7 separate regions of the Homo sapiens genome follow, and regions 1, 2, 4, 5, 6 and 7 are each linked to region 3. The links are contacts of gene promoters, found by promoter capture Hi-C in blood cells and fetal thymus (Javierre and others, 2016). All regions are on one chromosome and are shown on one strand. Each heading gives the region's core, a stretch centred on a gene start or on the middle of the fragment in contact. The rest is flanking DNA. Distances are from core to core; before and after follow the strand shown. Region 1 overlaps PAX5 (paired box 5). Region 2 overlaps PAX5 (paired box 5). Region 3 holds the start of GRHPR (glyoxylate and hydroxypyruvate reductase). Region 4 overlaps PAX5 (paired box 5). Region 5 overlaps PAX5 (paired box 5). Region 6 overlaps PAX5 (paired box 5). Region 7 holds the start of LOC105376031 (a long non-coding RNA gene).

Region 1 (3,490 bases), core at 401-2,900, 410 kb before region 3:
GTATAGTGGTGCGATCTCAGTTCACTGCAACCTCCGCCTCCCAGGTTTGAGTGATTCTCCTGCCTCATCCTCCCAAGTATCTAGGATTACAGGCATGCGCCACCATGCCCAGTTTTTTTGTTTTTTTGCTTTTTTGTTTTTCTTTTTGAGACGAAGTCTCTCTCTGTCACCCAGGCTGGAGTGTAGTGGCATAACCTCAGCTCACTGCCACCTCTGCCCCTAGGGTTCAACTGATTCTCCTGCCTCAGCCTCCCGAGTAGCTGGGACTACAGGCGCATGCCACTGCCTAATTTTTGTATTTTTAGTAAAGAAGAGGTTTCACCACGTTAGCCAGGCTGGTCTCCAACTCCTGACCTCAAGTGGTCGGCCCTCCTCGGCCTCCCAAAGTGCTGGGATTACAGGCGTGAGCCACCGCACTCAGCCTCCATGTATACAGTTTTGCAGCCTGCTCTTTTCATGCAACATTCTGTGAGAAGCTTTTTCACATTCCAGACCATTAATATCTGAAAGTTTATTCTGAGGCTGCACTGGGTCTCCAGCTTATACAAATGAAGAATGACAGAAGTAGCAGGTGGGTGCCTCCCCTTAAACTCAATGGGCAGTAGCCTCTCTGCCCTTTCTGATCTTACAGCTTGGTGCTCGGCACCAAGGGCAGTCCGTGTCCTCAGCTGATAGCCTGAAATGGTCTTTTCTGTTCACCCTATAGTCTCACCACACACACACAGGCCATCTGGAGCCTGGCTACTTGAGCTCAGCAAGGAGCCTCTTGCCCTTTTCTAATCAGTCAGCTTAAGTGTTCCCTCAAATACATTCAGATTGTTTGTTTGTTTTCCCTAATATTCAAACCACTTATTTTAACTAAGCAAACTCGAAGCATATTGGACAACCAGAAAACTCATGGCATTTGGGAGAAGAGTGGGTCATAATAAAATGTCCAGTTCTGGGAGTGAGGTTCTCTTTTTGGTCACCTGGAAGTAAGCTGGCATCTGACCTAATGTTTATATTTTTGTGTATGTCACTTTCTCTGTGTGTATGTGTCTACAGAGATATTGCTGGATATGTCAATATATGGATATACCAGACATAAATATAGTTACAAATAAATATATGGCAAAAAAGTCACTGTAGTTCAGCTTAAAATCCTTACTTTTCAAATCATTGTCTGACTATTAAATTTGTATGTAAAAAAGCAAAGAAAATTATGTTTTCCTCATTTTCTTTTAAAATAGTTATAAATATCACTGGGAAAGCATTATCAATTGTTATAAATCATTAAGAGGCTGCAGTAGCACAGTGTACAGGCTCTGGAACTAGACCACTAGAGTTTGAATCCCATCCCTCTTACAATTTACCAGCTACATGACCTTGGGTAAATTACTTAACCTCTCTATGCCTCAGTCTCTTCATCTGCAAATGGGACTAAGAATCATTTCTATCTCATAGGATTACTATTAGGATTAAATTAATGAATTACTTAAAACAGTGGTAGCTACATACTAGGTGCTCCTTAAATGTAAGATGTTATTTTCAGTGGTGTCTTTGTAAAGATTAATGACTAGCTTCCGTCTTAAAATATTCATATTTTTCACATTTGCTTTAAAAAGCACAAGGCGAGGGCGGTGGGGGAGTAAAGATGCTCAATGGGTGCAAAAAAATAGAAAGAATGAATAAGACCTAGTATTTGATAGCACAATGAGGATACTATAGTTAGTAATAATTTAACTGTACATTTAAAAATAACTAAAAGAGTGTAATTGGGTTGTTTGTAACACAAAGAATAAATGTTTGAGGGGATGCATACCCCATTTTTCATGGTGGGTTATTACTCATTGCATACCTGTACCAAAATATCTCATGTACTCATAAATATATATATATATGCCTACTATGCACCCATAAAAATTAAAAATAATAATAATAATAAAGCACAAGTGGCCCCCTTGGAAGCTGGGGAGGGGAAGGTAGCCACTCTCACACTGTTTTAAGAATGCATCAGGGTTGTCCTTTATAAAGGGGGATCTCAGAGTTATAGGCAAGCCTCTGAAGCTGCCCCCAGGGGTGAGAGATTTTGCTCATCTGCCTTTAGCAGTCACCAAGTAAAAACAAAGAGCATCAGCTTACACTGAGAAGAAACTGTAGTGGGAAGAACAAGACTGTAATTGAATCATAACAACTCTAAACAAATTTTAAATTTTAAATATGACAGGCTGTCAAGACTCATCCAATAAGAACACACTCAGGACCTTTTCTAAGCCAGGGACAGTTGGGCTGAGTTGGCAGTCACACCAAATTGCCCGTCCCTTACCTGCTGAGCGTGAGCAGGACCCTGGCTGCCGTACTGCAGAGCACACTAGACGTTCCAACAGAGAAAGGAGCTCAGCATCAAACTCTTCCTATGAATAAGGAAACTAAAACCCAAGATGCTCAAATGACTTGCCCAGAATTGCACAGCGAGTCAGCCCAGACTCCCAGCCCCCATGCCCCAGCACTTTACTTTAAGCCACATTCAAAGGAAGCGCGGTCCCTCTGCTAAATACTTCCTATGTGAGGCATAAAAGCTATTTGGATTTCAAACCCACTTAGAATTTGAGGTTTAAAACTCTGAGGGACTTTGTGGCATTTAAGGATCCCATGGAAACATCACTCTTCCTTCTTTGAAAGGCTAGGCTTCTCACCATCATCCCACGCCCCCCGCCCCACCACCAGTCCTCACAAAATTACAGTGAAAGAGAAAATCATGGTGCCTTGAAAAAGGAAACAGGAAGATAAGGCTGAAGAAACACCCACATCTATGGCACTGATCAAACTGCCATCAGTGCAGTAAGAAGCTTGGGCCATCAGCTATGCCGAGAATTCAAAACCCAGGGGTCCAACTGTGCCAAGCTGCAAGGGGCCCCACAGGTGGCACCCAGGCCTGTGACTGTTGTGGAGAAGAAAGAGGACACAGATAGAGGTCGATGTGAGTGGATCACTTGAGTCCAGGAGTTCGAGACCACCCTGGGCAACACGATGAAACCCTATCTCTACAAAAAATGCAAAAAATTAGCCAGGCATGGTGGTGGCACCTGTAGTCCTAGCTACTTGGGAAGCTGAGGTGGGAAGATCACCCGAGCCTGGGAGATCAAGGTTGCAGTGAACCATGATTGTGCCTCTGCACTCCAGCCTGGGTGACAGAGTGAGACCCTGTCTCAAAAAAACAAAAAAAAAAAAAAAAAAAGAAAGAGGAAATGGATAAACAATCTCAGAAGGCCTGCTACCAAAATTAGAATTAAGAGCAGAACTAACAAAACATCTTCCCCAGGGCCACCTCCAGCCCGGGACAAGTTTTGTTAGCCTGCACAGTATATTTGTTTTTATTTGACTTAGTTGCTAATATTTTTAAGTTGGGAGATTTTTCATAAATATCTGAATTCTAGCTTCTCTTGAAAAATCAGAACACCCAACAATACTGGCCTCACGTTCTCACATGACCCAACCAGTTGGTACTAAA
Region 2 (3,552 bases), core at 658-3,157, 470 kb before region 3:
CTCCATCAGGAAGTGACTCCCTGAGGCTCGCAGAGGGGCCATGGCCCAGCTGCCCCTGAGCTTCAGGAACTCCGCAATGCCAAGCAGCGCTGCCTCGAGCATTTCCGTGTGTTTCTCCCGGTGCACAGATGGACAGCTCGAATTTGTAAATCAGGGAACTTTTCATGGGAACCACTGAGAGATCAAGAGAAACCCGAGCAGCTGACCTCAGTGTGTAGTGCTGGAAAATAAGATTCCCCACAACCAGCCAAAACCTGGGCCACATTCATCAGGTTGAAACCTCTGGAAATTTTGACCTCAAATCTGCCCATGAGGGGAATCTAATGACCAATGTCAGTTGTCCTGTAAGATTTTCCTGTAGCTAAGCTTCTCCAAAGCAATGAGAGGTTTGTCTCTCAAGGCCATGTGTGAACATGTCTGAGTTGTTTTGCCCCACAGCATAGATGCGCTTTCTGACTACCAGTAATGGAAGGGAAAACTACGTGCTAGAGATAGGTTACGGTCACCAGGACACTTTGCGGTTTAAGTCCATTTTGAGTTACTTGAAATCCACTGGTGAGCTGGCCTGGAAGCATCCCCAGGAGACAGTTGAGGCAACTTCTTTACCAACCACCAGCAGGCAGGGCCCAACCAACTTGGAAAGCCCCATGGCTGCTTCCCGCTCCTTTGCTCCTAACCCCCAAGCCACAGTGTAAAATGATGACTCAGCCACGTGCAGGGCCAAAACAGGAGGGAAGTGATTACTTTTTCCAAATCCCAAAAACCCATTCTAAACAGGATCAGAAGCCCAGAAAAAGGATAACAGTGAATAGTGCTGCCCCCAGGGCACATATATCACAGGATTTCTCCAGATTTATTCCATGTGCTATAATTTGACATCCAGATTCTATTCATAAATGAATTTATTCAGAGGAGCCCATATAAATAAATATGCCTGTTCCTAAAATGATGTCCCTTATGGAAGCAACGTTCCCCTTCCTGGCAGCTCCAGAGGCAGCACCATCAGGCCCATCACTGATCCTCATACTCCAACATCCAAAGTGACAAGCCCTGATGTTTAAAAGATGAAAAATTACACTGTGGCTCCAAACCTACCATAAATGTCCTGTCAGGCTAATGCAATGTAAAAATTTTAAACCTTGCTTTGGATCAAGTACCATTTCCTCAGTTTCCTGAAATTTTACGTATTCATTTGTTTATTTATTTTTTATTTTTTTAAAGTCAGGGTCTCACTCTGTCACCCAGGCTGGAGTCCAGTGGCATGATCATGGCTCACTACAGCCTTGAACTCCTGGGCTCAAGTGATCCTCCCACCTCAGCCTCCCGAGTAGCTATCACGCTTGGCTAACTTTTAGTTTTTTTGTAGAGATGGGGTCTTGCTCTGTTTCCCAGGCTGGTCTCAAATGGTCTCAAGTGAAAGTATTTAAGGATATGCACTGTCCAGATATTACATTACTGTATTACATATTATATGATGTTTCATTATATTATATTTGTACGCATATGTGTGTGTGAACATATATATATATATTTTTAACAGAATTTCCAAAACCATCACCCCCACCCCCAGCACACCTCACACTTTGGCCACCTGAAACTACTCTCCCTTTCCCAGACTGAACGCATATGCATATGTCTCCATGCTTTTGTTCTTTCTCTTCTTCCTCTTTCCACTTCCCTACCTGGCACCCTCTTCCTCATCCTCCTCCCCACACACTCTCTGTGCACCCCACCCCCGTTGCCCCTGGTGAAAGGCAGAGCCGTGTCTATATCACTGAGACATTCCCTGAGAATGCAAATAATAATAAATAACATCCTCTGAACGTCTCCCACGTGCCAGGCACTGTCCAAGACTTTGGAGACACACGGGAGCCTCACACCAGCTCTGTGCTAGCATATCGGCATGGCTACCCTCCTCTTGTGGATGGAGAAACTGATGCTGAGTGAGGGGGAGCAAACTATCCCAATCACACAGCCAGCAGGTACGCACGCCAGGTTCCAGGACCAGGGACTCCAGAGCTCTGGCTCTTACCGCCTTGCCATGTGGCCAGCACAGGTGCAGCCCGACCATAAGTGGGAGCGGCGAGTGTCCCTGAGAACAAGGTTACCGAGGCTGACAGTCCATCCCTTCCTCCGAGAGGGACGGGACACATTCTGTTAGGCAGTTTCCTTAGAAGTATCACAGTCTGGGTTTAAATACCTCCTCCCTCCTTTTGAGGCAGATCTGGGAGACCGGAGAACTCGTCCTCTGTTGCACCAAAAAGGAAATATTAAATTGTTTGTTTGTAGGGGAAGATCCTTACAGTACAACCCAGAATTAATAATTTAGTACAAAGATTTCTTAGCTCCTCAGGCAGAAGTTCTAAAAGTGATACAAATTGTTATTTTGATTGCTTTAATGGAATATTTCCCTGGAAGCCTGGGCTCATTTGCCTGTGTAATCTGTAGCCAAGCAAACAGTAAAAACAGAGAAAGTCTGGGGAAGAAAAAGTTCCCAGAAACTCCCCAGTGCAAATGCCCCATCACTGCAGGTCAGATAGGGCCTTCTGGTCTGTCTCTCATTCCCTCCCACCAAGACAATTCTTAGCCACTTTGTCTCCCTGCGCAAACTCCCTCCTGCCTCCTCTCCAACTCCTTTCCTGCCCAACCCAGCCCTACCCACCTGAGCTTTCTTGATCCCTTTCCCACCATGACCCTGACTCTCTGCCCTGTAGAACCTCTGATGTGGCAGAACACTCCTTAATAATAATAACAATGATAATAAAGGAACATTTGGAGTACCTACTATGGGCTGAACCCTCTGTCAAACTTTGTTTAATCAGTACAACCACCTACAACACAAGTATTGCTGTTTTTTTGTTTGTTTTGTTTTGTTTTGTTTTTGAGACAGAGTCTCGCTCTGTCGCCCAGGCTGGAGTGCAGTGGCACAATCTCGGCTCACTGCAACCTCTGCCTCCGGGTTCACGCCATTCTCCTGCCTCAGCCTCCCAAGCAGCTGGGACCACAGGGGCCCGCCACCACGCCTGGCTAATTTTTTGTATTTTTAGTAGAGACGGGGTTTCACCATGCTAGCCAGGATGGCCTCGATCTCCTGACCTCATGATCCACCTGCCTCAGCCTCCTAAAGTGCTGGGATTACAGGCGTGAGCCACCGTGCCCGGCCAACACAAGTATTGTTATTATCCCCATTTTACTTATGAGAAAACTGAGGATAAAGCAGTGGTAAAGCCAAGTAGATTGGAAATAATAACTTTGTACACAAAGGAAGAAAAGTTCGTATTTGTTTGAGATGTGATAATAACCAGTGTTCTCAAAGCTAGGAATAAAGGAAGAATCACATAGACTCCAGAGGTAAGCCTACATTCACTTTTATTACCACAATCTCCCAAGAGATTACGTGAGCTCAAAACTAACGTAACAGGTTGCAAAGTCACAAGCAGCTGCTTCCGAAGCTTGTGCTCTTAACCATGACACTATGCTACTTCCAGCAGTCCTCCAGACATGGGTCCCTGACGCACTCCCCAGTAGAAAGCACACCACCGTCCTCTCCTC
Region 3 (3,498 bases), core at 551-3,050:
CTCACTGGACAGTACATCTTGGAGATCATTCCACACTGGTACGCACAGAGCTGCCTCACTCTTTTGATTGATGCAGAGTATTTCACTGTGGGAATGAAGCATACGTAATGAACAGTCCCCTATGAGTGGACCTTTAGGTTGTTTCCCATATTTTACTATTCCAACAATGCCACAATGAAGAGCCTTTGGCAGATGGCATTTTGCACATGTGTGAACGCGTCTGTAAGGTAAATTCCTAAAAGCAAAATTTCTGGGTCAAAAAAGATGTGCAGTCTAAACTTTGATAGCTACTGCCAAACTTTCTTATTGAAGTTGCTGATTTACACTCCTACCAGCAACGTATGAAAGCACCTGGTTCCCCAATGTATTATTTTTTACATTGGTATCTTGCTGTAATTTTAATATGCAGTTCTTTTGTGAGTCAAGTTGAGCACTTTTCATCTTTTGTTTTTTTTTTTTGTTTGTTTTGTTTTTTTTTGTTTTAGATGGAGTCTCACTCTGTCACCCAGGCTGGAGTGTAGTGATGGGATCTCGGCTCACTGCAACCTCCATCTCCTGGACTCATGAGCAATTCTCCTGCCTCAGCCTCCTGAGTAGCTGGAATTACAGGCATGTGCCACCATGCCCACCTAATGTTTGTATATTCAGTACAGACAGAGTTTCACCATGTTGGCCAGGCTGGTCTCAAACTTCTGACCTCAAGTGATCCGCCTGCCTCGGCCTCCGAAAGTGCTGGGATTACAGGCATGAGCCACCGCGCCCAGCCATACATTTAAAGGCCATTTTCTTTTCTATAAACTGTCCATTGATATCCTTTGCTTATTCAGATAAGCTGGGCATCTTTGTCTTAGGAACTATTTGTGCAATAAGTAAATCAACCCCTTGTCTATAAAATGAGTTGCAAATATATGGTATTTTTCCCGGTTTGTTGTCTTATGATTTTGTTAATTTTTTTTTTTTAAGATAAACATAAGCCTGGTATTTCCAGGCACCTGGTATTTCCAGGCAGTCTCCCATACAAGCCCTAACCAGGCTTAGTTTCCAAGATCAGATGCATTCAGGATGGTACGGTTAATTTTTCAATGGAGAATTAGTTGTACTCTTATGGCTTCTGGCTTTCGCACACATAGCGTATCACTTATTTATTGCTGCATAAAGAATTACTCCAAAATTGAACGGCTTAGAGCAACAGCAGTCAGTGCATTATCATCTCTTATGGTTCCGGGGTTGACTGGGCTCAGCCAGTGATTCTCCTAAAGGCTCTTTCTTGCAGTTTTAGCTGTAGTCAGGTGGGAGTTGGCCTGGAGTCACCCGAAGGCTTCCTCACTCATACCTCTGGTCATTGACGGTGGCTGTGAGCCGGGCCCCTGGCTGTGCTGTTGGCCTGAACACCTACACGTGACCTCTCTGTGTGTCCTGGACTTCCTCACAGCCTGGAACCTGGGTTTCTACCCTGGGCCAACCCAAGAGACAGAAAAAGTGGGGGCTTTCAGTCTCTTAAGGCCTGAGCCTGTGGAAACAGGACCCTGAGCGTGTAGAAAAAGCAGGGCTCCCATGAGGCCTTGGACGGGATACTGCCCCCTCTCCCCCGGGGCCCTGATTCCCCAGTGGCACGAGGCGCACCCCCCCACACACACACAAGGACACTGTGTAGGGTCACTGTTACTGTCACTCCCCGAGCACGCACAGTCACCGCTCAGCCGCAACCCGGCGCTCCCTCTCGCGAAGCCACACCCCCTGCGCACGCCGCGCGCGACGTCTCTCCCGCCCACTCCAGCCTGGCCCCGCCCCGGCCCAGCTACATTCCCGGGCCAGCTTCTGTACTGCCAGGTCCGGGTCGGCGGCTGCACTGCGGATGAGACCGGTGCGACTCATGAAGGTGTTCGTCACCCGCAGGATACCCGCCGAGGGTAGGGTCGCGCTCGCCCGGGCGGCAGAGTAAGAGCCTCGCGCGCCGTGGAGGAGGGAGCAGGGCGGTCCCAGGGACCGGAGAGCCGGGCGGGGCGTTTGGGCCTTGTGGCCGGCTGGGGCAGGCTTGGAGTTTTGGGGAGTCTCGGAGAAAGTTCTCTGGGGCCCAGTTCTCCTCTTAAGACGACGCTGGGACCTGCAGTTCCGGCTTTGGAGAGGGGAGATTGCCCCTGAGGCAAGGTCCAGGCTAATTCTCCACGCTCCCACAGGACATGTGGGGTCAGGGACATGGCGGTCACTGACCAGGCCCTTGGACGTTTGGCAGGGGGCTTTGATGACTCTTCTTCTTTATATTTACTTATCTTTTTTTTTTTTTTTTTGAGACAGTCTCACTCTGCTGCACAGGCTGGAGTGCAGTGGCTCGATCGATCGTGGCTTACTGCAGCCTCGACTTCTTGGGCCCAATCAGTTCTCCCACCTGAGCCTCCCGAGTAGCTGGGACTACAGGCGCAAACAATCACTACCGGCTAATTTTCTGATTTTTTTTTTGTAGAGATGGGGGTCTCACTCTGTTGCTCAGGCTGGTCTCAAATTCCTGGGCTCAAGCAATCCTCTTGCCTCAGCCTCCCAAAGTGTTGGGATTACAGGTGTTAGTCACCATGACTGGCCTGAGGACCCTTTAATTTTTAAGACAGGGTCTCACTCTCATCCAGGCTGGAGTGCAGTGGCACCATTATACCTCACTGCAGCCTCAACCTCCTGGACTCAAGAGATACTTCCACCTCAGCCTCCCAAGTAGCTGGGACTACTACAGGCATGCACTACCATGCCTGGCTAATTTTTTATTTTTTTCAAAGACGAGGGTCTCACTGTGTTGCCCAGGCTGGTCCTGAACTCCTGTACGAAGGGATCCTCCCACCTCAGCCTCCCAAAGTGCTGGGATTACAGGCATGAACCACTGCACCTGGCCCACCCTTGCTAAATGGAACCCTTTTTGTGGGCCAACCTTGCCAGGTGCTTCATATACATAAACTTTTAATCCTGGTAGCACTGTGAAGTCAGTATTATAATTCCCATTGCACAGATTAAAAACTGGAGGCTGGACTTAGGGTTAAGTTTCTTCCCAAAGCCATGCAGCTCCCAGGTGGAGGAGCTGGGGCTTGTACTCAGAAGTGTCTGACTGCTGTCTGATCACTGCATTTGATCAGGTTTGTGTTTCCAATGTTAGATAGGAAGAGGATGCAATCCAGCCTCAGCAGCCAGTTCTAGGGGCATATGAGATTTTCAAATTTTGTTCACTGCAACAAAACCTTTGCCAAGGACCCACTTTGTACTGAGCAGGAGAAGGTGGAAGGCAGCAACCGCGCCCATGGTAACAGTAGCTCACGCTGTACCCTGCTCATGGGGAGGTGGATGAAAGGTGGTCAGTGCCCTGGGCTCAGTCAGGAGGTGCAAGTAGCTATCCTGTGTCCTGCCACATAGAGGCTCCACACGTGCTGACTGTACTGAATTCCATGGCAAGGGCCAGGAGGCACCGTGCATCACTGGGACAAATATCTGGTTGCTGTGAGCTGCCGTGGAAGCGTTGGG
Region 4 (3,590 bases), core at 679-3,178, 450 kb before region 3:
TGTATAATGTACAACCTTTTGTGTAAAAAAGGAAGAAAATAAGACGATGTGCAATATAAATCTCTCCAAAGGATATATGAGAAACATTTACAGTGGTTGCTCATTCAGGGAGGTAGGAAGTGAGTGAGTGGAGGTGAGGGGGAGAGACTTTTCATGGCATGTTTTTCTTTGGTTTGGTTTGGTTTCAGAAGTTTGAATGTACTGCTTATTACAAAATGTAAATTAACTAAGTATAAGATTAAATTCCCTCTGTGTTCTGTATTGTTAGCTATTCACACTGTAACAGTCTCTGGTGATGATGCTTACATGTCAAAAGAAATATTACGAATTATCAATAAAGAAACAAATGGGATGAAATATCTTCTGTTGAGTCTCAAGCTTGAACTGTTCAAAATAAAATCAAGCACAGAGGGCAAATGTTTCCCGTGAGGAAATGGCCTCGGGGGTACATCATTCCCCGGGGCTCTCTGGGACCATATTGCTCACGCAAGGCTGACCAGAGGCTTCTTGAAACCCAGGCCCAGAGGTGAGGCATCTGCCTTTGCAGTCAGGAAGCCCTGGGGAAAACCAGCGTGGGTCTGCTCTCATGCTGAAAGGTGCCCTTACTCAAGGCCTTGTCTGACCCCTGCCCCCACCAGTGCACTGCTGCCCTAGACTAGACTTCATCCGTCACGTCAAGCTCCCACCCATGTGAGGAATGAGGCCAGACTAAAGACCATGAAGCAGTGAGATGTGGTGTCACCAAGACTCAGTCAGAAGTCAATGCTTCCTCAACTGTACTTATCTGGGGACAACTGCAATGCAGGGCTGACATTTGAACAAAGATAGCAGCTTTGAGTTTTGGCCTTTCGGATCCCTCGTAGAAGTCAACAGGCTCAGAGGACCCAGCATCCTCTATAGGAAGGGCCTTCGGAGGCAGCTCATGAGCCCTCTGAGAAAATGGATTCCCCACCAATTTTGACCCAAGAGGATACTGTAGGCTGGGCCACAGCCTGAGTGACCAGATACCCCCACATGTGGGCCAAGGCAGAAGTTGGTCTCTCTGACCAACGTTCCCCAGCCTGAAGCCTAGGCCCCTCCTCTGGCAGCCCATGACCTTGGCCTTCCACAAGACAGGTGCCTGCTCCTGCCCACAGGACATCATCCTCAGAGACCCTTCTCCCATCATGGCCCATCCCCATGGGGACCATTCCCACAAGGTCACCTAGACTAGCAGGTATGGGAGCTCACGGCCCAGTCTATCTGCCCAGCAGTGTTCTTCCATTGGTCAGCACCCACCAAATGATCCTTTTCTCAAAGGTTCTATGCACACACACACATGCACACACACATGCACACGCACACGCACACCAGGAAAGATGGCTCAGTTTTTCCTACTCAGCTGTGGCTCTGCCCAGTCATCCTGGTCCCAGTCACTCTTGCTAAAGCATGACGTGGGCCTTGGTCCCCAGGACACCACCAAGTTCCTCCTTGTCAGAAGGGGCCCATCCACTTTCAAGAGCTTCTCCCTCCACCAGCTTCAGTTATACTTCCCAGCCCTGACCCTGCCAGCCGGGCCCAAAACTCAGTGAAACCTCCTTCCTGTCAGCCATCTCCTAACAACTCCCGCTGAGGCCTGGCTCTGTCCCCAGCAGGGCAGTGCCCAGCTCCTCCGGCCCACCCAGGCTGCTCCATCAGATCCCCTCAACTCTGCCCCTCTAGGGGGCGTCTCTTCAGCCAGCCAGGCCATCCTCCCAGAGGAGTCCTCAGGCTTGATCCCTCTCCCCCGGGACTCATGGGCCAGGCTCTTTCCACAGCTCAGAGCCCAAAGTTCAGAGAGGGTGGCTCCACTGAGGGCCCCTGGGGGCAAGGTCACTGTCTGGTCACCCAGTAGAGCCCAGCACAGAGTAAAGGCTCAGGGCACACAGGCCCTCAAGTGTACACACAGGGGGTGTTAGGAGACCCTCCCCCTGAGGACACCACACAGACTCAGCACAGGCAGCCTCGCTGGACACGCGCCCCTCTCTGCAGTCTCCCCAGAAGCAGACTGGCTGCGTCCTGCTCTGGTTCTTTGAGAGTCAGCCATAGCCTCTGCCAGCTGAGCCTGTAAGGATATCTAGGCTGCCAGGCGCCGTGGCTCATGCCTGTAATTCTGGCACCTGGGAGGCCGAGGTGGGTGGACTGCCCTCGAAGGGCTGCGAGCTGGGCAGAGCCTGCCTCTCCGGGCATTCACCCTGTCCCGCGATTCCCCTCACCACTCTCACCCCACCAGCACCTCGCTTGCTTTCTTTACTAGGGAAATAATGGCAATAGTGTCTGTCATTTCCTTAAGAAGGATTTGGACACTCCAAAACACATAATTAGTTATTCATTGGTTTAACAAATATTGATAAAATATTTACTCTGTATCAGGTAATATTTTTTAAGTAAATATATTTTAAAAATAAACAAAAACAGGGGATACAGTGATGACCAAGACAAGCCTCTCTCTCTCCAGTCTAGAGAGGGCAGCCCACTTTAGTCAAGTGATCACAGGAATAAACATAGGATTACAAACAACGGTGACTGATGCTAGGGTGAAAAGAGAGCATAAAAATATATCCATGTGACCATGTGTAATGGAGAGGGGAGTGGCCTCCTGTGGGAGGAATCAGGGAAGTCTCCAAGAGGAACTGCATGGAACCGTGAGGAGTGACCAGGGAGAGGGGATGGGGCAGAGAGGGTGCCAGACTGAGGAGATGCTCGTACAAAGGCCCTGAGAGAAGGGGGTGAAAGGAACAGAGGGAGAGAGGGAAGAGGCCCCAGGAGAATCTGGAGAGGCTGGGAGGGATTGAGCCAGACAGCCCCAGGGGCCAGAGAGAGGATCTGAGCCTTGCTGCAGGAGTCTTGAGGAGCTACGGGAAGGGCTGGGGAAACATGTGCCCTCCACATTTCTCAGTCCCAGGGCCCGAATCGCTCGTTCCTTCAGGTCAGGCCATGCTTTCTAAACTCTGCTCCCAAGCCTCCTCTTTTGGTAGAAACTAGGGGCCAGGGGAGGTAGGAGCTTGCATTTGTGGGTGTTTGAAGGTGGATCTGCTGAGTCACCTGTTCAGCCGCAGGTGATTCACTGTGCCCATATGGAATGGAAACCATCTCCCATGGACACGGGCATTGTTCTCCAGACACAGCCAGAAGCACACATGTCTCCTCCTCCAGGATGCCTTCCTTCATGCCCCAGCTGGTCCTCCAGCTCCCATTCTTAGGGCTCTGACCACTTTCTCCCTTATTTTAGGAACCACATCCCCTGGGCCCTTCACTCCCACACTGTGCTATGAGCTACCTTCGGGGTAAAGGTGGGAGGTAATTCATCTCTCTCTCCTCCAAAGCGAATATCTGTGGAATAAATGAATGAATTGGTACTACCTGTGACAAGTGTGACAAGCACCATCACTCTGCATGTCTGTCTGAAAATGTCAGGATCCCTCCATTTGACCTCACACATTCATCATTCTTCCCTCCACCAAGCTTAGTGAGTGCTAATGCCAGGGACACAGTGATGGGCAAAAGCTGAGCCAGCCATTGTCCTCATGGAGTTATGTCCAGAGGAGGTGGCAAACAGTAACTGAAAAATA
Region 5 (3,436 bases), core at 525-3,024, 510 kb before region 3:
CAACTGAGAAACCTGCCTCATCCTTTAGGATATGCATGTCATTCATTCATTCGTTCATTCATTTGTACATTTAAAAGGCTGAAGCTGTAATTTCTGCCAGAATGCCTTTCCCCGAGCTCCCCACAAAGCTTCTCAACATTTAGATCTCAGATCAAACACCACCATTTTACAGAGATCCCCCCAGCTGGGCACCACTCCCTGAGTCTCTCTCTTCTCTCCCACTTATTTTCTTCAGAGCACATGCCCTGGTAAAATTACATTGCAAATTTATTCTGTGTTTACTGTAAATTGCCTGGTTCTGCCCCACAAGTAAGCCCAGTGAGGGCAGGGACTGTCCACCAGGGGCACCATGGTACTCCCGGCCTGGCACAGAGCGAGAGCCCAATAAGCTGTAACTACTGATATTATCTCCTTTCCAATGCACAAAACAACTTTTTTTTTTTTTGAGATCGGGGGGGTCTCCCTATGTTGCCCAGGCTAGTCTCGAACTCCTGGGCTCAAGTGGTCCTCCCGCCTTGACCTCCGGAAGTGCTGGAATTACAGGCATGAGCCACACGCCCGGCCCACAGAACAACTCTGATAGCCAGCCCAGCATCTTCCATGGAATTCCGAGGACGGCCCCGTGGCCGACACTCAGTTGCAGGGTATCATCCTGCACTGTAGCTCTTGTTGTAATTTTTTACAGCGCCTTTTGGCAGCCTGGATACATAAGGTGTTCTTGTATTTTTGCTTTCATTATTCATTATGATTTCACTCTGAGAGAAGAGGTATTTCACTGCATCTCATGAGCCTCAAAAAGGCTCATAAAAATGGGTCAAAGGAGGCATGCCCCATGGAAAAATGAACAAATCGCTGTTCAGAGCTGCCTGGCACCCCGCCAGAGGGGATTGTGACAGAGGAGGCAGAACATATTTCCTGAGGAGGAAAACCCCAAAGCCACTCAGCCCAGCAGAGGGTCTCCACCACGCAGCCGAAACCAGCCTGGGCTCCCCAGCCCTTGAGACGCCCCAGGTCTGGAGTCCGTGGGTTCACAGGCTGAAAGCAACCCCATGCAGTGTTTACTGTTTCCCCAAAATCCCCAAACACACAGTGGATGTCCCTGCTTCCAATGATAGACACTGGGACTCTAAACAAGTGGAAAAAATTCAGAGCTCTCCACCCCTGCCCTTCAGCCAGACATCCTGACGGGGTCTCCAAGACTCCACCACCTTCTGAGGATTTCTGCGGGATCAGGACCCTTCGGAGAGCATCCCCACGTAGAGAGCTGTCGCTGGGCAAATGTCTCTTTGTCTTATGCCCCCAGGGCAGAGATAAGGGACTCTGGACAAGAGCCCAGACACATAGTAATAACTACCATTTATGGGGTGTTTACCACCTGCCAAGCACTGTGCTAAGCACTCTGCAAGGTCCGCTCATATAATCCTTGCCAGAAGCTGTGAGAAAACTCTAGTGCTGGCCCATTTTACAGATGGGAAACTTGGGCCCAGAAATTAGTAACTTGCCTGAGATCACCCAGCTAGAATACGGTGAAGTGGGCTTCCAGCTCTGGTAATCTGGCTTCCCTGCTGACATTCTCAACTGCACACTGAAAGAGACGCCTTCAGGAAATTTGAACTGGGATTTTTTTAGTCCATTTCATCATATAATGGCAGTAGGCTGTGGAAGCCAGGGCCCTGGGGGAGCTAGAACTGGGGCTCCAGCTCTCACTCACTAAATGTGGCCTTGAGCAGGTCACTTCCCTCTCTTGTCCTCAGCCTCCCCAGCTGTGAAGTGAGTAGTGGGACCACAGGATCCTCCCACCCTACCCAGGTATGGTCAGAACGTCTGCTCTGAGGAAGGCTGGGACTCGCCAAAGCTGGATCCCAAACTCCTCCAAGCCTCCTTCTCCACAACTGCCCACATACACTCAGACACCCCTTCGGTGGCTCTTAATCCCCCTCCTCCCACTGGCTCATTTTATCCTTGAAACAGCCAAGGGAGGCAGGGGCAGAATTACCACCCCTATTTCATAGATAGGGAAATGAGCTTGGAGAGAAGAGGATGACCAATGTGTCCAAAGACAGGACCAGTTAGGTGCAAAGTCCAGACAGAAACCTGTTCCTCTGACTCCTGTTCCAGTGCTCTTTCCCTCAGCCCTTGGCTGTTGCTCAGATTAAAAGCCAGAAGAGGGTGGACTTTCTTTGGCTGCCAAGTTTTGGGTATTGAGACTCCAAACATTGAACCTGAGGGATACTGCAAATCAGAGCAGGTGGACTCAGGGACTTGGCAGCCATTCTGTCTGTCTTTGTGGGTATTTCCGCTACTAAAAAGGGGCAGTGCCCAGGGGGAGCCTCAGTCCCCAGGGCCCAGGTCTCCTACCAGGCTAGTGTTTCCCAAACTTGCTGGCCCACAGGAGGCCTCTCTCTGTCTCCTCCTCACATGCCAACTTACTGATGCAAAGAGATGCTCCTCAGGGAAAAAGGCCAGCAAGATACAGTCTGGCCCCATTCCTTTGTTCTCTCAGGCAAAAGGTCAGGTGGACCCAGCTAAGTCCTTCACCAGTAGAGAGGTGAGCAGAAGTGGGGAGCCTGGTGCCCCACCCGCTGTCCTCTCTGGCAGGTAGGCACAGTGGCTCCCCCATCAGCAGGCCTGTGGCCCAATGAGACACCTGCAGATAATTAGTCCCAATCAGGACAGGCCCAAACTGCTGACAGTGCAGTAACAGGCTGGCCATGTCACCAGTTTGCAAATGGTGAGCAGTTTCAGAACTGTGGCCCTAGCTGGTAGAGCAGGTGTTTAACTTAATATTTAATGCGGCATATATATCCCTCTCTAATGAGATCTTCCCTGAGCAGCCCAGAGTGTGAGGGCTGAGATAGAGCAGCGCAGAAGCCATCTGTTCCCCAGACCCCAGGTAGAGCCCTGGGCCGGGCTCACCATCCAGCTGGGCACCTACAGCACTCTGGGCTTTGTGGGGAGGGAAAAGGAGAGAGGTGGGGCCGGAAGGTTCTGAGTGTCCCTTGAAGAGCTCTGCACTATGTCAGCACATCCGCTAACACAGGTGGAGTTAGATGAATGCCGTGTGGTGAAACAGAGCCCCCCACCCCCCAACAGCTCCTGGGGGCATTCCTTCAAGGTGTTTAACAGTTCTCAATGGGGTGGGTAACTGCACCTCCAGAGGGCGTTTTGAAAATCCATGGGGGCTTCTCCCTGCCTGAGGGGTGTTACTGCCCTGCAGTGCAAGAATCCCACACAGTGAAGACTTTTTCTCCATTCTTCACAACTCTCCTGTCCTGCCAAACATTCAGGTACGTGAGAAATCCGTTTACAAGTATTTGAATCTAGAACTGAACTTCATTTACATATAAATGTGAACTTGCAATTTCCATGGTTTTAATATACACTGAATTTTCTAGGAATGCAACTACCGTGTAAATGGAGCAAAGCTTGTACTTTG
Region 6 (3,512 bases), core at 254-2,753, 440 kb before region 3:
CAAAGCTCACACAGCAAACTAGTGTTAGATTCCCAGCTTAGACCCATTCCACTGCATCATGCTGCCTCTCAAACACGCTGGGCATCAGTTTGTCCGTCTTCAAATGGGGGGTGGGGTGGTGATTGTCACCGGGTGGCACCAGGGATCTCTGAGTGCCATGACAAAGGGAAAAGCCCTCAGCAAGCACTTATTACACCTTTGCCAACTCTGAGCACATAGCAGGTGCCTGCCACACACTCATCACACGGGTTACATTATCTCTCCCTGGCCAGGGCTTTTTTGGATGAAAGGTTGGTTCTCAGTTGTTTAGTGAGTGAGGGAATGCCAGCATGCCTGAAAACAGAACTGGAAAAGGGGACTCTGGTGTCTGCAACCAGAGGGAAAGCAAGAGATCGCAAAGAAGAGAGAAGTCCATTCCCTCACTACTACTTCCACGTGTGTGCCAGGCCCTATGCTGGGCACTGAGGGCGTCTGGGACGAATGGGAGACGACTTCTGCCCTTGGAACTCAAGGTCCGAAGGGGGAGGCAGGAGAAGGCTGTGGGGCCTCAGAGCCAGCCATCTCCATGAGGCAGCCTTCTGTGTAGGGCAAGAAGAGCTTTCTGAGGCCGGCGCCTGGCCACAGAGCATGGGGATACACACAGGGGACAGAGATGGAAGGAAGGCCTTCCCTCCAGGGCGCAAAGCACACGTGGCAGGGTCAAAATCCAGTCCCGAACTTCCCAAGCCACAGCAGGTCACTGGAAAAAGTGATGCCTTTGTGTTTGTGCCTTTTTCTAATTTTCCACCGGTGCAAGAGACAAAAAAGTTTATGTCAGGGCATCATCCAGCAAGATCAGAACCCCCACTCAGGCTCGGGGACAGAGGGAAGAAAGAGTGGCAGTCGCACCCAGGAGGACCTGCCTGTCCAACATCAAGGAATGATCAAGAACTCCCATCCCGGTTCCACGCTGCGCGTCCGCCATCCGAACCGGCCTCGCCCCTCCAGGCCGGGTCCCGACGCCAGCTCCGTCCGACCCCCGCCCGGCACCCCCGTCCGGCGCCCTCGCCCCGGCGCGCATCATCTGCTCCGCTGCCCAGCTCCCGGCTGCCGCCGCGCCCGCGCCCCCCGGGGCCCCGGAAAGCTGGCATCCGTTGTTAGCATAACAAACTCAATTGTTCTCAGCGGGGCCCCGGCAAATAAAGTCATTCATTACGGGCCTCTCCTGGCCGCCGCGGGCCGCGCGGCAATCAGCGGGCCGAGCCACGCGCCAGCGCTGGGACCTGCAGGGCGCGCCGCCGCCTCCACGCTGCGCCCCGGGCCCCGCCGCGGCCGCGCCGGCGGGGGCAGCGCCGGCCGCCGATTAGTTTTATCTCGGAACGTCAATTGACTTAGACTGATTGGCTTCCTGCCGCCAATGTCAATTAAATTGCAAATGCTTGGCGGAGGCCGGCGCGAGCGGGCGGCCTCCTTCCCGGGGGCGCCGCGCTCAGCCTTCTCTTTGCGCCACGTTCGGCCGCAGCTGAATTCATTTCTCCTTCCACGTCGCGCAGGAAATCCAGGTGACCTCCTGGAAGTCGTCTGCCCTCCGCCCCCGGCCCTGGGGACTCCTCCGTCGGAGCCCGAGCCCCGAGGACTCCCGGCCGGTGGGCGGGAGCTAGGCCCACGGGGCGCCCGGACCGCGGGGCCGAGGAGGAAGGGACCGGCCTCCCCGCAGGGACCTCGGCCTCTCTGCCGAGCTGTATTCTCACGGTGGCACCGCGGATCCCTGGACCTCCTTCAAAGATCTTGGGATATGACTCGGTGCGCCCTTGAGCGACTCGCTTCCTGCTCCTCTCATGCCTGGCTTTCTTCACCGGCCACGAGTAGGCTCGAAGGAGATGGTGGCCGGGGTCCCGTCCAGCCCATGCCCAGTGCCTGGGTGTCCAGAGGGAGGAAGGCCTGGCAGCATCACCAGCGTTCACCTGGTGCTGACGCTGTGCCGAGCCACGGATGGGCACAGTCTAATCTTCCCCCACAGCCCTCCGAAGCAGATACTGTTACTGTCCGACTTCTACAGAGGAGCGAAGTGGGGTGCAGGCCAGAGAGTGGCCAGTTGGGTTTCAAACGCCTGCGGCTGCGTGCCTATACGCTGCATTCAGGGAAAGGCGCTGTGGAGGAATAAGAAAGGGAAACGGAAAACGGCCCAGCCTAGACCTGGGCACCTCCCACTGCCAAGAACTGTACCAGGTGTTTTGCCTCTGTTATGGAATTCTCACAGTAATTGTATGACCTAAGTATATAGTCCCCATTTTACAGATGGGGAAACCGACCCTTGGAGATGTTCAGAAATGTGTCCCTTGCCACAGAGCGGGTATGTGAGATGAACTACAATGATACTCTCATAGGCAAGAGAGCTTTACAGCTTATAAAGCACTTTCTCATGCACTTCTTCTCGCCGAATTTGCACAAGAATTTGAAGAAGGCGTCCTGCTCTCTCTGGTGCCAGTAGGAAAATCGAGGCCCAGCATGGGTTGCCCAAGATCACCAGCAAGGGAGTGCCAAGCCAGGACTCCAAGCCCCGCCTTGAAGGCCTTGAACGAGATGGCTCAGGCACAGGCTCTGCTCGTTCCCTCTCCCCATTCTTTGGGGAGCTAGGAAGGAGTCATACACTGGGGTCTGCTGGAAGATGCTCGGGGCCATGGGGAAGAGCAGGAAAGGGGAAAGGGGCTCCCACGAAGGAAGGCATTTGCTGGAGGAACCATAAATTAGGCCCCCAAACAGTTGTTTTTCGCCCATTGTCTCTGCCTCTCTGCCTGCCTGCCTGCCTCCTTAAGGTTGTCTCCCGAGAGGGAGGTACGCAGGTTCTTAACTGATAAAATGTGCCAGCAGTTAAAAGATACAAACCTGACCAATCGTCCTTTTCAGAAAAGAGATGTTCACGGAACAAAAGTACTATTCAGAAGTGCTGGATGGCGTTTGTGTCTGAGACAGAAAGGAAACGAAGAGCGAGAAGATGAAGAAGGAGGGAGGGGGAGCGGCGGGGAGCGGGGGAGGAGAAAGGATCAGGAGCTGGAAGGGTTGTCCAGACTCAGTGGGTCCTAACCGAGGCTCCGGAAGGGCAGGACCTGACTCAGACCACACCGCAAGGCCACGGCTGAGTCAGGATGAGAAACCCAGGCTTCTCCAGTGTCGTGTCAGGCTCACCTTACTTCTGACAGCTGCCCTCAGCTACGACTTGAATTATTTGTGTTTCAGAAACATGGAGCTGAAATTCTGCCAGCATGAATTCCAGTTGGTATTTCTTTCCTTTTCTTCTGACCCTAAGCTGAACAATCCTATCATGAAACTTAGTAATATAAATAAAATGATCATTAAAAAAGAAAGAAAGCCTGTAATCCTGGCATTTTGGGAGCCTGAGGCAGGAGGATTGCTTGAGCCCAAGAGTTCAAGACCAGCCTAGGCAACAAAGCGAGATCTTGTCTTGACAAAAAAATTTTAAAAAATAGCCGGGTGTGGTGGTGCATGCCTGCAGTCCCAGCTACTCAGGAGGC
Region 7 (3,465 bases), core at 733-3,232, 390 kb before region 3:
GGGATTCCCAGGTGCCTCAGCCCGGGCGGCCAAGTGCGTTGTTTCAGGTCCCCTGCCTGGGATCCCTGCACTTTGCAAAGTTAGCTGCGCGGCTGCAGAGGTCCGAGATCCTTCCGGCCTTAGTACCTGACCCACGGTCCGGCACCCCCAACCCGGTCCCGGCGGGAGAGTGAGAGAAGCGAGCTCGCCGCCTACTTACTATGCATGGATGCAAACGGGTCGTGCTTACAGTGTATTTCCATCGGGGCGCTCCAGACTGCAGGCCGGCCCACGCCGCCGCCTCCCGGCGCCAAGGGGCTGCCCAGGGCGGATAGGGAGCCTCGCCACCAGGCCAGGCACTGTGCGAGCTGGGCTCAGAAAACACTGCTGGAGCTTCGGGGTCTCTCTCAGAGCCTCCCTGCTGGAGACCGCCCGGAGCTGCGCGGAGAGGCGGGAAATGGTGCTAGCGCACCCGGGCTAGGAGCGGGTGCCCAACTCCGGCTGGCTTCCCTCCCTGGCTGGCTCAAGCAGCAGCTCCGGGCCCAGCCCGGGGTAGCTGCGGCCAAGGCGCCCGCGGCTTCGGGGGCATAGCGTAGGGGCCCGCCTCCGGGACAGCCAGCAGCCCCCGGCCCCAGGAAGGAGCAGCTTTGAGGAGGCCGCCGGAACAATCGGCCCTTGACTTCACTCAGGGGGCGGAGAGACCCGGGGGCTGCCAGGCTGGTTCCGCGGCCTCGATGCTTCTGAGGTCCCTCCTCGACCCCTCGGTCTCCGCCAGATCCTTTCTTTCTCTGCTTCTCCGAGTCTCTGGGGCTCGGACTTGCCCCCTCCGCCTCTCTCCAACTGGCTCTCCGACGTCTCGGACGAAGTTGCAAAGAACTTCCTCTCCGGCAGCGCGGGGTCCTGGCGGGTTTGGAGATGCTTCCGCCCCTGACGCTGGGGCCGCGACTCCGGAGTCCCCGGGAGCGTGCAGCCCTCCAACACTGAGACCCGCTGCCTTCAAAGTTCCCGCGGCCCCCGCTGCTCGCCCATCGCTGGGACCAGGAACGGGGACACCAGCGACGGACTCTTCCTCGCCGGGGTGTCTACCTCGTGCCAACCAACTCTTCGAGCCCCGCCGCCCTCCCTCGTGGGTCTGATTCCACTGTCTTTCCGCTGCCTCTTCCGGGACGGCCGCCGTGCCTGCCCCAGGCGTGGAGTGAGGAACAGAGGAGAGAGCAGAGGGTCCCAGCCACCAAGGCCGCCGGGGCTGCCGGGGCTGAGATGGAGCCGCAGTCGGCTCTGACTGCCTGCGTTGCCGCCGCCGCCGCCGTCGCTAGCCCTCCGCCTGCTCGGCGCGCACAGTGCGCCACCGCGCCGCCCCGGAGCCGCTTTCAGGACCCGCTGCGTGTGGACAGCGCCGCCCGGGGCTCAGCTCCCTCCGGGCGGGGGCGGGGCGGGGGCTAACCTGCCAATCACGCTCCACCAAGCCAATCAGAGTGGCGTCAGCCGGCCCTGGCCCGAAACACCGCCCCATTGGCTAAGCAGCCCACAGGCTCCGCCTGATTAGCGGACACCTGGGCAATGGGAGAGAATGGGGGGCGGGGCCCAGGCGGCGGCGCCACGTTCATTGACAAACGCGCTGGACTAAGGCCTAGTGGATCGCGGCTGTGGGGAGGGGAAAGGGGCCCACGCAGTGCCTGGAGAGTCCCGCTGCGGGTCCCACGCGGGCTGGACCTCCCCACAGCGATGCTGGGATCCTGGGACGCTCTCAAGGCTTGAGAGCAGTCGATTGAAGGGTGAGAATGGGGGAAGTCTCCAAAAAAACCAAAAAACAAAAAATGTATGTTGGAGGAAGACAAGGAGCGCAGTAGGGATCCTGTACCATCAGGCTCGTGATGGGATCGGATTGTGTGCATCGGAGTGTGTGCATATCTGCCAGTTCTGACCTCACTTTCCTCTTCTGTAAAATGGGCAGAGTGGGGTTAACTAGATTTTACTGAAGGCTCCTTCCACGGAAATATTTCCTAATTTTATTTCCTAATTTTATCAAGTACCTACTAAACCACCACTGGCTCCTCGTCGTCCACCCTCCTCCCTCACTCCACCTGCAGGGCCCTCATTGCTGCATTAACGAAAGGCAGAGACGTTGGGGGAAGGGGGAGAATATCTCACACTCCTTTAAAGTTAGTAACTGGGGCGCACCAGGGCGCACCTGGGTGGAGGGGCTAAGGCTTTGGGCCAGGTTGCCCAAGCAGAGTGGCTGGCCCTCTTTCCTGCCTCAGATCAGGAACTGCCAGAGGCTTTGGGAGCTGGTGTTGCGCTTCTGTCCACCGGAGAAATTCCGCACCCGGCTCAAGGCTTCTTGAGAACCGAATGAGCCAAGTCGCGTCCAGGGCTAATAAGGGTCCCTGAAGCGGGCGGGTGGACAGGCGCATTCTATCTGCAAGGGTCAAGCAAAGCGGCCAGGCGCGCTGCAATGCGGCAGCTTCCAGTTGATGGGAAACTGACCTTCCCTCTACAGGGGAAGTTCCTGTCCCTATGTAGACAAAATGGATGGATTTGTAGCAGAACTCTCTTGCTACACAAGGGATCTTTGACTAGCGAGTCCGCTTCTTTGTGGGTTTTAAGGCTCTGAGACAACAATCAAAGAAACTGGACCTTGAAAAGGAAGCGTGTGACAGTCATTCTTCACCCAAGAAGCTATAGTTCTGTGAGCCATCTGGGCCCTGGCTCAAGAACGACGCTGAGGATTCCCTTGCCCCAGCAACTCATGGGAGTGGTCCGAAGACTCAATTTCTATTTCATGAGTGATGATCCGCTAATATTAAACATAAATCCACAAAACAAGGGCTTTGAGATGCCTGCTCCAGGACTGGGCTTGTAAGGAAGAGTACAGGCTGATCATGAGAGGATTCCTGGGTTATCCTCTTGTTTTATTCTCTGCCTCGGTTTCCCTTCCTCTGCCTTCTCTCTACGCATGCTCTACTTCTCAAACTCCTACACTGGGGTCGACTCTTGGGCCCACCTTCTGTCCCTGTTCCACACCCAGCTGTCCCTGACCAGTAGACAAGTTTCCGGCGCTGACACCCGTCCCCACCCCCCACCAGGGCACAGCTGCGGAAAACGGCCCCAGGCGGGACTCTGGGGACCCAGGAGGCTGCAGTGCGCGCCGGGGTGGAGTGGCGGCGTTATCTCTTCTTTGTCTGGAACCCCGCCTGTCCGGATCTTCCCCTTTCACCCCCGGCCTTGGAGCAGGAAGATCGCAACAGCAGAGAGGGACTGGGATGGAATAGACTTCCTGCACTGGCTTCACCCGATGGCGCCCAGTGGGTCGGAAATAACCAGAATTCAGATCCTCGGCCCAGACTCAACATGGCGGCTTGCACACCTACTGGAGAGGCGGGAGTGCGGGACGCCCTGAGGGATGCAGCCAGTGACACCCCCACCCCCAGCCTCTCTTGCTGAGCTCAGGCCTACAAACCCAGGTTCTCTAGATTCTTAGAGCTA

What was found. Contacts are between HindIII fragments. The CHiCAGO score rates a contact against its expected background, and 5 or more counts as called.
Region 1: a fragment that was not itself captured here is called in contact with the fragment with the promoter of GRHPR in region 3 in 3 of 17 cell types (naive B cells, M1 macrophages and total B cells); the score reaches 7.0 in naive B cells.
Region 2: a fragment that was not itself captured here is called in contact with the fragment with the promoter of GRHPR in region 3 in 1 of 17 cell types (total B cells); the score reaches 5.1 in total B cells.
Region 4: a fragment that was not itself captured here is called in contact with the fragment with the promoter of GRHPR in region 3 in 1 of 17 cell types (naive B cells); the score reaches 6.4 in naive B cells.
Region 5: a contact is called between a fragment that was not itself captured here and the fragment with the promoter of GRHPR in region 3, in 1 of 17 cell types (total B cells). The highest score is 6.4, in total B cells.
Region 6: a contact is called between a fragment that was not itself captured here and the fragment with the promoter of GRHPR in region 3, in 5 of 17 cell types (naive B cells, total B cells, endothelial precursors and 2 more). The highest score is 10.4, in naive B cells.
Region 7: a contact is called between a fragment that was not itself captured here and the fragment with the promoter of GRHPR in region 3, in 3 of 17 cell types (total B cells, naive CD4 T cells and megakaryocytes). The highest score is 7.9, in total B cells.

What each region holds. Positions count from the first base shown.
Region 1 is chr9:37,007,931-37,011,420 of GRCh38, forward strand. All of the region lies in intron 3 of PAX5 (paired box 5), which reads right to left. LOC105376032 (a long non-coding RNA gene) reads left to right here. Exons shown (of 4, transcript NR_188579.1): 4 at 1-1,122. Among named protein-coding and RNA genes, the nearest start is that of PAX5, 25 kb to the right of the region's middle. The HindIII fragment of the contact is 2,352 bases long and covers 475-2,826 here.
Region 2 is chr9:36,946,197-36,949,748 of GRCh38, forward strand. The region is part of intron 6 of PAX5 (paired box 5); the gene reads right to left. Among named protein-coding and RNA genes, the nearest start is that of MIR4476, 54 kb to the left of the region's middle. RefSeq lists an enhancer at 1,463-1,987. The HindIII fragment of the contact is 3,086 bases long and covers 365-3,450 here.
Region 3 is chr9:37,420,896-37,424,393 of GRCh38, forward strand. GRHPR (glyoxylate and hydroxypyruvate reductase) reads left to right here and starts at 1,801. Exons shown (of 9, transcript NM_012203.2): 1 at 1,801-1,938. The coding sequence starts at 1,856. RefSeq lists enhancers at 1,147-1,772, 1,773-2,398 and a silencer at 1,613-1,762. The HindIII fragment of the contact is 7,938 bases long and covers 1-3,498 here.
Region 4 is chr9:36,967,601-36,971,190 of GRCh38, forward strand. The region is part of intron 5 of PAX5 (paired box 5); the gene reads right to left. Among named protein-coding and RNA genes, the nearest start is that of PAX5, 65 kb to the right of the region's middle. The HindIII fragment of the contact is 3,105 bases long and covers 377-3,481 here.
Region 5 is chr9:36,910,896-36,914,331 of GRCh38, forward strand. The region is part of intron 7 of PAX5 (paired box 5); the gene reads right to left. Among named protein-coding and RNA genes, the nearest start is that of MIR4476, 19 kb to the left of the region's middle. The HindIII fragment of the contact is 3,297 bases long and covers 127-3,423 here.
Region 6 is chr9:36,985,051-36,988,562 of GRCh38, forward strand. All of the region lies in intron 5 of PAX5 (paired box 5), which reads right to left. Among named protein-coding and RNA genes, the nearest start is that of PAX5, 47 kb to the right of the region's middle. RefSeq lists an enhancer at 1,454-2,409. The HindIII fragment of the contact is 5,123 bases long and covers 1-3,512 here.
Region 7 is chr9:37,026,334-37,029,798 of GRCh38, forward strand. The region is part of intron 1 of PAX5 (paired box 5); the gene reads right to left. LOC105376031 (a long non-coding RNA gene) reads left to right here and starts at 1,612. Exons shown (of 2, transcript XR_929590.3): 1 at 1,612-1,754; 2 at 2,587-3,465. RefSeq lists a silencer at 1,205-1,664 and enhancers at 1,339-1,633, 2,436-3,110, 2,685-2,864, 3,135-3,465. The HindIII fragment of the contact is 6,093 bases long and covers 1-3,465 here.